2 separate regions of the Homo sapiens genome follow, and region 2 is linked to region 1. The links are contacts of gene promoters, found by promoter capture Hi-C in human tissues and cell types (Jung and others, 2019). All regions are on one chromosome and are shown on one strand. The core of a region is centred on a gene start or on the middle of the fragment in contact, and the rest is flanking DNA. Distances in the headings are between cores, read along the strand shown. Region 1 holds the start of KIFC2 (kinesin family member C2). Region 2 holds the start of LOC100996662 (a long non-coding RNA gene).

Region 1 (4,174 bases), core at 1,048-3,547:
TACCCCTAGGGAGAAGGCGCCAGGAGCAGGCAGGTGGGAGGGAAAGTGTTCGGCAGGGCAGAAACCCTGCCTGGCTGTATCCAACTGTCACTCCCACTGGAGGCGCTGTGTATGCAGGGCCCGGCAGTAAGCCCAGCTGCCTACAGCCAAGGCCCAGCGACAGACATCCTCCTTCGGTAGCAGCAGCAGCCTGTCCTCCTCCAGCCGGCTCAGGAGGCCTGCCACACCCAGCATCGCCCCCCCCCACATCCCATAAGTGTTGGCCGTGAAGACAGCTACAATGAGGATGGTCACTGCGACCACCAACAGCATTGCCTGACCAGCCACAGAGCGGCCCTCAGGGCCGAGGTGGCCGCCAGCCACTGCCAGCACCATGCCTCCTCCCAGGAGCAGGTTGGCAGAGGAGCGGTCCCCATTCACCCAGTGGAAATCGAAGGCCAGAAGGGGAAGGCCGATGACGGTGGCCACCCAGGCTCCAGCAAGGCAGTCTTCGTGTGTGCTCAGCCCTGGGGCCAGCGTGGTGGTGGCAGCCAAGACCTGGAGCAGGAAGCCAGCAGCAGCCCCTCGACTTGCCTGTCAACACAGGGAAGGGAGAACACGTGGGAAAAAGAGGCCGGGGTCACCCTTTTAAACAGGAAAGGGTTTGGGGCTTCCATGGAGACCTGGTCTTAGACGCACTTCCCACCAACCTCTCTCTAATTCAGGAAACTAGGTCCTTGGGGTTTGGGAGGTATGGGGATGCGCCCCTGCTCAGCCCCAGTGTACTCACCTCGGCTGTGCTCACGGCTGCGTGCAGAGACACCACTCCCAGCACCAGATGGGACAGGGCTGTGCTCCACTCGGCCCCCGGCTTGGGGGCCATGGCACCTCAGGCGGCAGTATGTACGAGGACACAGATAGGAGATACTCAACTTTGGAGAGGAAGGAAGCGCAGAAGCCAGCGACCTGGAGCCCTACGCGCGGCACTCTAGTAAGCCCAGGTTCCAGGTCCCCATTACTGGATGTTAGGAGAAGTTCAGTCCTAGACTTTCCGGATCCCTGAGGCCACTGCACACACCTGTGGAGAAGAAGAACCTAATTCAGCCGGGAAACGGGGGAAAACGACTCAGGGTCTAAGCTGGGGGGAACGTCAGCCCTGGGGCCCTGGAGCCCAAGTGGGAGTGCGGGCCTGGGGAAGAGAGAGCGGCGAGGCGCTGCAGGCCCACGCGGCGGCCTCGGCCTGCTCCCTGCGTTCCGGGAGGCGTTGTCCTGGGAACCCGGGTCCAGGAGGAGCGACGGCGCAGGACTCCGGGAGGCCAGCCGTGCGCAGTTACCGGGCTGCGCGGTCCCAACGCAGCGGCGAGCGGGAGGCCCGAGCCTGCGCAACGCACCGCCCACCGCCGTCGGCCCTGCCTCCTCTGCCGTGCCCCCAGTTGCGGGAGCGAGCGCGGTCGGGAACCTCCACCAGCGAGAGGAGCGGAGGCTAGAGCGGCCGGGCGGGGCTAGAGCGGCTGGGGGGGGAGGGTCGAGGCCTGGGGGAGAGGGTCGAGACCTGGGGGGGGCCGGTTGGAGGCCGTAGGAGCGGGTGGGGTCGGGAGGAGCTCGGGGACCAGAAAACGCTCTGTTTGGGTGGGTGCGTGCGTGGGCATAGTGGTTTGGAAGGAGCGTGATGAGGGGAGAAGGGCCGGGGCGGGGCTGCGAGGGGCGGGGTCTGGGCGGGGCTGCGAGGGGCGGGGGGTCTGGGCGGGGCTGAGGGAGATAAGGTTTAGGCGGGGCTGAGAGCGGCGGGTCTGAGAGGGAGGGGGCCTGGGTGGGGCGGGGCCTGGGCGAGGATGCGATGGGGGGGTCTGGGCGTGGCTGCGAGGGGCGGGGCCTGGGCGGGGCTGCGAGGAGAGGGGTCTGGGCGAGACTGAGAGGGACCGAGAGGGGAGGAGCCTGGGCGAGGCTGCAAGGAACGGGGTTTGGGCGGGGCTGCGAGGAGGGGGGGTCTGGGCGGGGCTGAGATGGGCGGGGCTGAGATGGGCGGGGCTGTAGGGAGAGGAAGGAGAACCCCGGCGTGTTGAAGGCTCCGCGAAACCGGAGCGGTGGGGGACTACGCGGAGGGTGGGAGGGATTCCGAGAGGAGGGTCGCGGGAGCCGTGGGCGCTCTCAGCCCGGTGTCCGCGGTGTAGGGGTTGGGGCGCGCCGGGCGGCGCCGTGAGAAACGGCGGGTCTCCAGGTGCGGCCGCGGGCACCTGTTTCTAGTACCCCCGTCCCCGCGCTCGCCTTCCAGCCGTGGGAGCCGGGCCGTGGGGGCGGCCGTCGCGAGCATGCGCACCGGCACTGCGGCGGGCGGGCGCCGAGTCTGGGCGCGGGGACGCGGGGCGGCGCGAAGCGGGGCCCTCTGCCGCCCCGCGCTCCCATGTACGCCTTTTACTCGTTGCTCATCTACATCTTCTACAGCCTCTTCCGCAGGGATGGTGGCGCCGCGGCGGCCGCGGAGCCCGGGGACCCCGCCCAGGTGAGCGGGGCTGGCCGTGCAGCCCGTCGTCTCCCGCCGCCTGCCCCACCCCCACGCCGAGGTTCCCGGGGCGGGGGCGGGCACGGGGCGCGGGGCGACGGGGCCGTGCCGAGGACCCTCGGCTCGGCCCCGATGCTGGAAGCGTAGACTTCGGCCCCAATCCTCCGGCCCGGTTCGCGGAGGGAAGGGGCCAGCAGGCTGCCTGCCCCCCTCCTCAGGGGCGCCCCTGCCCCCTCCCTAGAGAGCCCGCAAGCCCCGGGGTCGCCGGCGCCCAGACCTGCCCGCGCCAGAGCTGTGGACCGAGCTGACCGGCCTGGCCGGTAGGTGCGGGCTGGGAGTCCCGCGGTGCGAGGGCGGTGCCGGGACCTCCCAGGGAGGGGCGGAGGCCTGGCTCAAGCACGTGACCCGAAATGTCTCCCGCCCTCCTCCCTGACCGGCAGCCAGCTCCGAGCCTGAGGATGGGTCGGAAGGCGCAGCCGAGGGCCGCGCGGCCGCGGTGTCCCTGGAAGAGGCCCTACTGCGCCTCGCCGAGTTCCTCTCCGTCCAGCTGGGGGCGGAAGAGAGCTGCGGGGGCCCGGCGGACCTGGGCCAGGTGAGCGCGGCGGAGGGGGCTGCTGGCAGGTACCACCTGCCCCGGCCTTCCTGGCTTTCACAGCCCTGCTCGGATTCTTGTCTCCTTCGCAGTCTGGCGAGGTCCCCTCACTGTTGACAGTGACCAGTCAGCTCTTGGCCCTTCTGGCATGGCTTCGAAGCCCCAGGGGGAGGCAGGCCCTGCTCCAGGGGACTCAGCCAGCCCCTCGGGTCCGGCCCCCCTCTCCAGATGGTGAGTAAAGGACAGTAAGTTGAAGAAGAACTCTGGAGGGAGCAAATCCCGGTAGAACCTGGGCGGCCTGGAGTTCGGGGTCATGTTCCGGAAGATTTGGACTAGAGACCTCTTCAGTGCTAACTGGGCCCACCCTACTCCAGGATCCACATCCCAAGAAGAAAGCCCTTCCCACTTCACCGCAGTCCCAGGCGAGCCACTGGGGGATGAGACCCAGGGACAGCAGCCCCTCCAGTTGGAGGAGGATCAGAGGGCGTGGCAGCGGCTGGAGCAGCTCATCCTGGGACAGGTGAGGTCCCTGGAGCCAGAAGGGATTGCCGGCTGGGACGCCAGAAAAAGGAGGTCCACCCTGTCTCTCTTACTTCTCCCCAGCTGGAGGAGCTGAAGCAGCAGCTGGAACAGCAGGAGGAGGAGTTGGGTCGACTGCGCCTGGGCGTGGTGAGGCTGCAGGGAGACCTGGCAGGGCCGGGCATGGAGGGGGTGCTTCAGGTGAGTGCCGAGGTTTCCTCTCCACCAGGGGGCGACGGACTCAGAGAAAAGGGTTCAGCATCTGACTCTGGAGAACGAGGCCCTGAAGCAGAGCCTGAGTCTCATGCGGGACCTCCTGCTGCACTGGGGCCCCGGGCCCCCCATCAGGGCTCCGCAGGTACTCTGCTCCCGAGCTGCAGCCGTTCCTGCAGCCTGGGGCTCTTGCACACCTGGCATGCAGCCACAGGGCCCGAGCCTCCTCAGGACCTCCCGGGATGGTCTGTGTAGGGCAGCCCCATCAGGGAGGCTGATGCCAATGGGAAGACCCCCCTCTCCGTGGCCCCTCTGAGTGGCTGACCCCAGGAGAGCAGAGGGACTGTGGGAAGGAGGTCTGCGTGGAGCTG
Region 2 (4,174 bases), core at 673-3,172, 230 kb after region 1:
CATCCATCTCCAGAACTCTTTAACTGTGTAAAACTAAAACTGTCCCCATTAAACACTAACTCCCCATTCTCCCCTCCCCTCAGTCCCTAGTAACCAACATTCTTTCTGTCTGTATGGATTTGAATGCTCTAGGTACTGCACATAAGCAGAATTATACAGAATTTGTCGTGACTGGCTTATTTATTGCTCTGTTTTTAATTAAGGCTTTAAATACCTCTAGAAATATTTTCATATATGTTATGAGACAGAGGACAACTTTAATTTCTTCTAAATATATTAATGATCCTGGTCGGGCGCGGTGGCTCATGCCTGTAATCCCAGCACTTTGGGAGGCCGAGGCAGGCGGATCACTTGAAGTCAGGAGTTTGAGACCTGCCTGACCAACATAGTGAAACCCCATCTCTACTAAAAATACAAGAAAATTAGCCAGGCATGATGGCATGCGCCTGTAGTTCCAGCTACTCGGGAGGCTGAGGCAGGAGGATCGCTTAAACCCAGGACCTGGAGGAGGTTGCAGTAAGCTGACATCGTGGCTTGGGTGACAGAGCAAGATCCCTCTCAAAAAAAAAAAAAAAAAAGTAATAGCTTTAGCATATCGTTCTATAAATGATGCTTGTTCTTGGAGTTTATGGTTAATAATTTTTACCATATTTAAATCATTTTCATTTATTCCTATTTTCTTTGAAATTTTACTCAGAATGGCTCTAGAATTGTATTCAATGTTATTATTTAGCATATGTGGATGGAATGCTGTTTTTTCTTTTTCTTTTTCTTTTTTTTTGAGAAGGAGTTTCACTCTTGTTGCCCAGGCTGGAGTGCAATGGCGTGATCTCAGCTCACTGAAACCTCCACCTCCCGAGTTCAGGCAATCCTCCTGCCTCAGCCTCCCATGCCCAGCTAATTTTTTTGTATTTTTAGTAGAGACAGGGTTTCACCATGTTGGCCAGGCTGGTCTCGAACTCCTGACCTCAGGTGATCTGCCTGCCTCGGCCTCCCAATGTGCTGGGATTACAGGTGTGGGCCACTGCACCCGGCCTGTTTTTTCTCTTTTAATTTGTTGAGCTAATGAATTGCAATGGTATGTAGGTATCCTTGTATTCCTGAAATAAACCATACTTGGCCATGGCATATTATTTTTTTGATATGCTGCTTGATTCTATTTGCTACTGTCTTATTTATAATTTGTTTTTCAATATTAAACATAGAGATCTGGGTCTATAGATTCTTTGAGCTCTATCATTTTGGCGTGTTAAGCTTCGCTATGGTTTGGGTGTTTGTCCTCCTAAACCTCATGCTGAGATTTGATCCCCAATGTTGGAGGTGGTACTTGGTAGGAGGTGTTTGGATTATGGGGGTGGATCCCTCATGAATGCGTGGTGCCCTCTTCATGGTAATAAGGGAGTTCTAGTTCTATGAATTCCCCCAAAAGCTGGTTGTTTAAACAAGCCTGGCCTCTACCCACTCTCTTTCTTGCCTTTTCTCTTGCTGTGTGATCTCTGCACACCAGCTCCCCTTCATCTTCCACCATAAGTGAAAGCAGCCTGAGGCCTCACCAGTAGATACTGGTGCCATGCTTCCTGCACAGCCTGCAGAACTGTGAGCCAAATAAACCTCCTTTCTTTATATTACCCAGTCTCAGGTATTCCCTTTATAGCAACATAGACTTAGACAAGCTTACAGACAGAAGGCTTCGTAAAGTGAATTGAGGTTTTTAATCTTTTTCTGTGGCTTGGAAGATTGTAATTAACTTTCAAATTATCTGATCTCTAAAGGTTGGTGAGAGCTCAGCTGTGATCTGGAGCCATCTAGAGCTTTCTTAATGGTAGCTTTTTAATCACCTCTCTAATCTGTTTTTTTTTTGGCAATTAGTTAATTCAAGTTTTCTACTTTGGCTCAGCTTTAGTATTTTGCTAGGAACCTATCTGTTCCATCCATATTTTCTTGGCTTTTCCTGGCCTGCCTGGCACAGTCTGTACTGAGAGGACGAAGGCCTTTTCCATGAGTGTCCTTGGCCATGAGTGGGTCAGGGCATCTCCTTGTTGGCTTGGGTATCAGTGGGGAGTGGAATGAGGACACAGCTTCACCTCTAAGGACTCAGAAGCCTTCTTGCAAAGACAAGGCCACCCCTCCCTTGGGGGGGTTGGGGGGTCCAAGATGTGAATAAACATGGAGTGTTCACACCATCCCACGGCCTGCAACCCCAGTGAGAAGGCCCCAGCCGCGTTTCTCTTTGGAGTGGCCCATCCATAGCATTCTGCCTAAAAAAGCAGGGTCCTGGAGTTCCAGGGCTTCTCACTGCACAGGGCGTGGGACACACCTCTTGTCTCTTGGGAGGTACCCGGAGCCCAGCCTCTCAGGCGCTGGGCGATGCAGGGGGTGGGGACTGTAAGCCCTGGGAGATGGGGCAGTGAGGGGCGCTGTGAGGCAGGGTGGTGTGGGAACTGAAGGTGGGGGCGCTATGGAGGATGCGGGGTGGTGTGTTGTAGGGGAGGGCGGTGTAGGGGATGGGTGGGGCAGGGCAGTGGGGCGGGGCCTTGGGGCGGGCGCTGTGGGGCGGGGTGGTGTGGGGGGCTATGGGAAGGGGCACTCTGGGGAGCTGTGGGGTGGGGTGCTGTGGGGCACCTTGGGGCGGGCCGGTGTGGGGGTGCTGTGGGTGGGGCAATGTGGAGGGTCATAGGTTGGGGCCTTGAGGCGGGGGTGGGAGGCTGTGGGGTATTGTGGGGTGGGGCCTGGCGCTGTCAGGGGCGGTGGGGCTGAGGGACCCGAGGTCGAGGCCTCGTGAGGCGCTGTGGGGCAAGGTGCTGTGGGAGGCTTAGGGGGCTGGTGGGCTGGGGGCACGGAGGGGAGGCTGTGTGGGCGCTCGGCGGCAGGGCGGGGCGGGGTGCTGGTGGGCTACGGGACGGGAGGGTGGGACAGTCTGCGGACCATGCGGGGCTGGGTGGGCTGGATCAGTGCCCAAGTTGACTTCGCGTCACCAACTGGCATGAGGTTTGGGTAGGAAAGCGGGCTTCTCACAAGAATAAAATCCATCAAGGTCCTCTGTCTCCACTGGAGCCCCCAGTCACAGCGCCTTCCTCCGGGCTAGAACCTGTCGGGGGCCCCCAGCCTGTCCAGGGCCGCTGTCTTCCAGGAAAGAGAGAGCTGTGCCCAGAGAGGAGACAGAACTCTTTCTCCGTGAATCGCATCCTTTTCTGTGCGGGATGATTTACATTCTGGGAACAAACGGGGCCGTATCTCACAGTGCTGCAGGATGCCAGTGGTGCAAACAGTCGGCGACCCGGCCATTTCCCGAGGGTCTCAGGCGTCCCACCCAACGGCCGCTCCCCGTTCCCTGTCCGTCACCTCCTCGTTCTCCTACGAAGGCGCGAACGTTCCAGACTCTCGCCGGTCCTCGACAGCACTCATTCAGTCTCCCCCCTGGAGATCCCAGGCTGTACTCTGGGACAGAAAAGAAGGCGGGTACGACCGCGGTGTCGGGTCCTACCTTAGCCGCTCCTTCTCCTGAGGGAGCCAGGCGGGAGAGAGGGGAACCACCGAGGCCTCGGTCTTCCCGCGTCCCAGAGCGGCCGGGCGAGTCTCACTTCCGGCCTGTGACCCGCTGACCTGTCCTTGTCCCACCAGTCGGGCGGTGAATTGGACTGACTGGTGACCCCTGGCACCAGGCTTCCCCATGGGCACCGGAGCAGGCGGACAGGGGTGGGGTCCCGCGAGCGACACGGAAGGGTCAGTGTGGCGGAGCGGACCCTGTGGAGGCGGGGTCACTGTGCTCCTGAGAAGGGTCCTCGGGGGTGGAGTCTATCAAGGTTGCGGGGGCGTGGTCACGGAGCGGAGCCAATAAAAGCGGGGCGTGCACGGCCGCGGGCCAGTGCCTATGAAGGGCGAGGGGTGTGGTCACAGGGCGGGATCTACGAAGGATGCAGGGGCGAGGCCGGGTCTCTGCAGGATGTGCGGTCGCGGGTCGGAGTCTATAAAGGCAAGGGGCGGGGTCCCTGGGTTGGGTGAGGGGTGTGGTCATGGGGGGCAGGTCTGTGTAGGGTGAGGAGCTTGTTCCCCGAATGAGGGTCTGTGAAGGGTGAGGGGCATGTTCCTGGGGTGGGGGTGTTTGTGAAGGATGAGGAGAGTTTTTCCGGCATGAGGGGCTGTGAAGGGTGAGAGCCATGTTGCCGGTGGTGCG

What was found. Contacts are between HindIII fragments. The study calls those that stand out against the background at their distance.
Region 2: a contact is called between a fragment that was not itself captured here and the fragment with the promoter of KIFC2 in region 1, in 1 of the 25 tissues and cell types used here (H1 embryonic stem cells).

What each region holds. Positions count from the first base shown.
Region 1 is chr8:144,464,040-144,468,213 of GRCh38, forward strand. KIFC2 (kinesin family member C2) reads left to right here and starts at 2,298. Exons shown (of 18, transcript NM_001369769.2): 1 at 2,298-2,479; 2 at 2,721-2,799; 3 at 2,920-3,071; 4 at 3,164-3,302; 5 at 3,446-3,591; 6 at 3,675-3,740; 7 at 3,820-3,948. The coding sequence starts at 2,381. It overlaps TMEM276-ZFTRAF1 (TMEM276-ZFTRAF1 readthrough), which reads right to left and starts at 1,662. Exons shown (of 5, transcript NM_001408018.1): 1 at 1,532-1,662; 2 at 770-1,057. The coding sequence starts at 862. It overlaps TMEM276 (transmembrane protein 276), which reads right to left and starts at 1,453. Exons shown (of 3, transcript NM_032687.4): 1 at 1,314-1,453; 2 at 770-1,057; 3 at 1-573. The coding sequence starts at 862. The coding sequence ends at 88. RefSeq lists enhancers at 1-466, 2,665-3,501, 3,192-3,291 and silencers at 1,172-1,401, 1,452-1,711, 1,782-1,911, 1,972-2,531, 2,582-2,891 and 1 more. The HindIII fragment of the contact is 34,202 bases long and covers 1-4,174 here.
Region 2 is chr8:144,696,756-144,700,929 of GRCh38, forward strand. It overlaps LOC100996662 (a long non-coding RNA gene), which reads left to right and starts at 3,636. Exons shown (of 3, transcript XR_001746144.3): 1 at 3,636-3,723. It also overlaps a transcript of ARHGAP39 not described here. The HindIII fragment of the contact is 3,287 bases long and covers 280-3,566 here.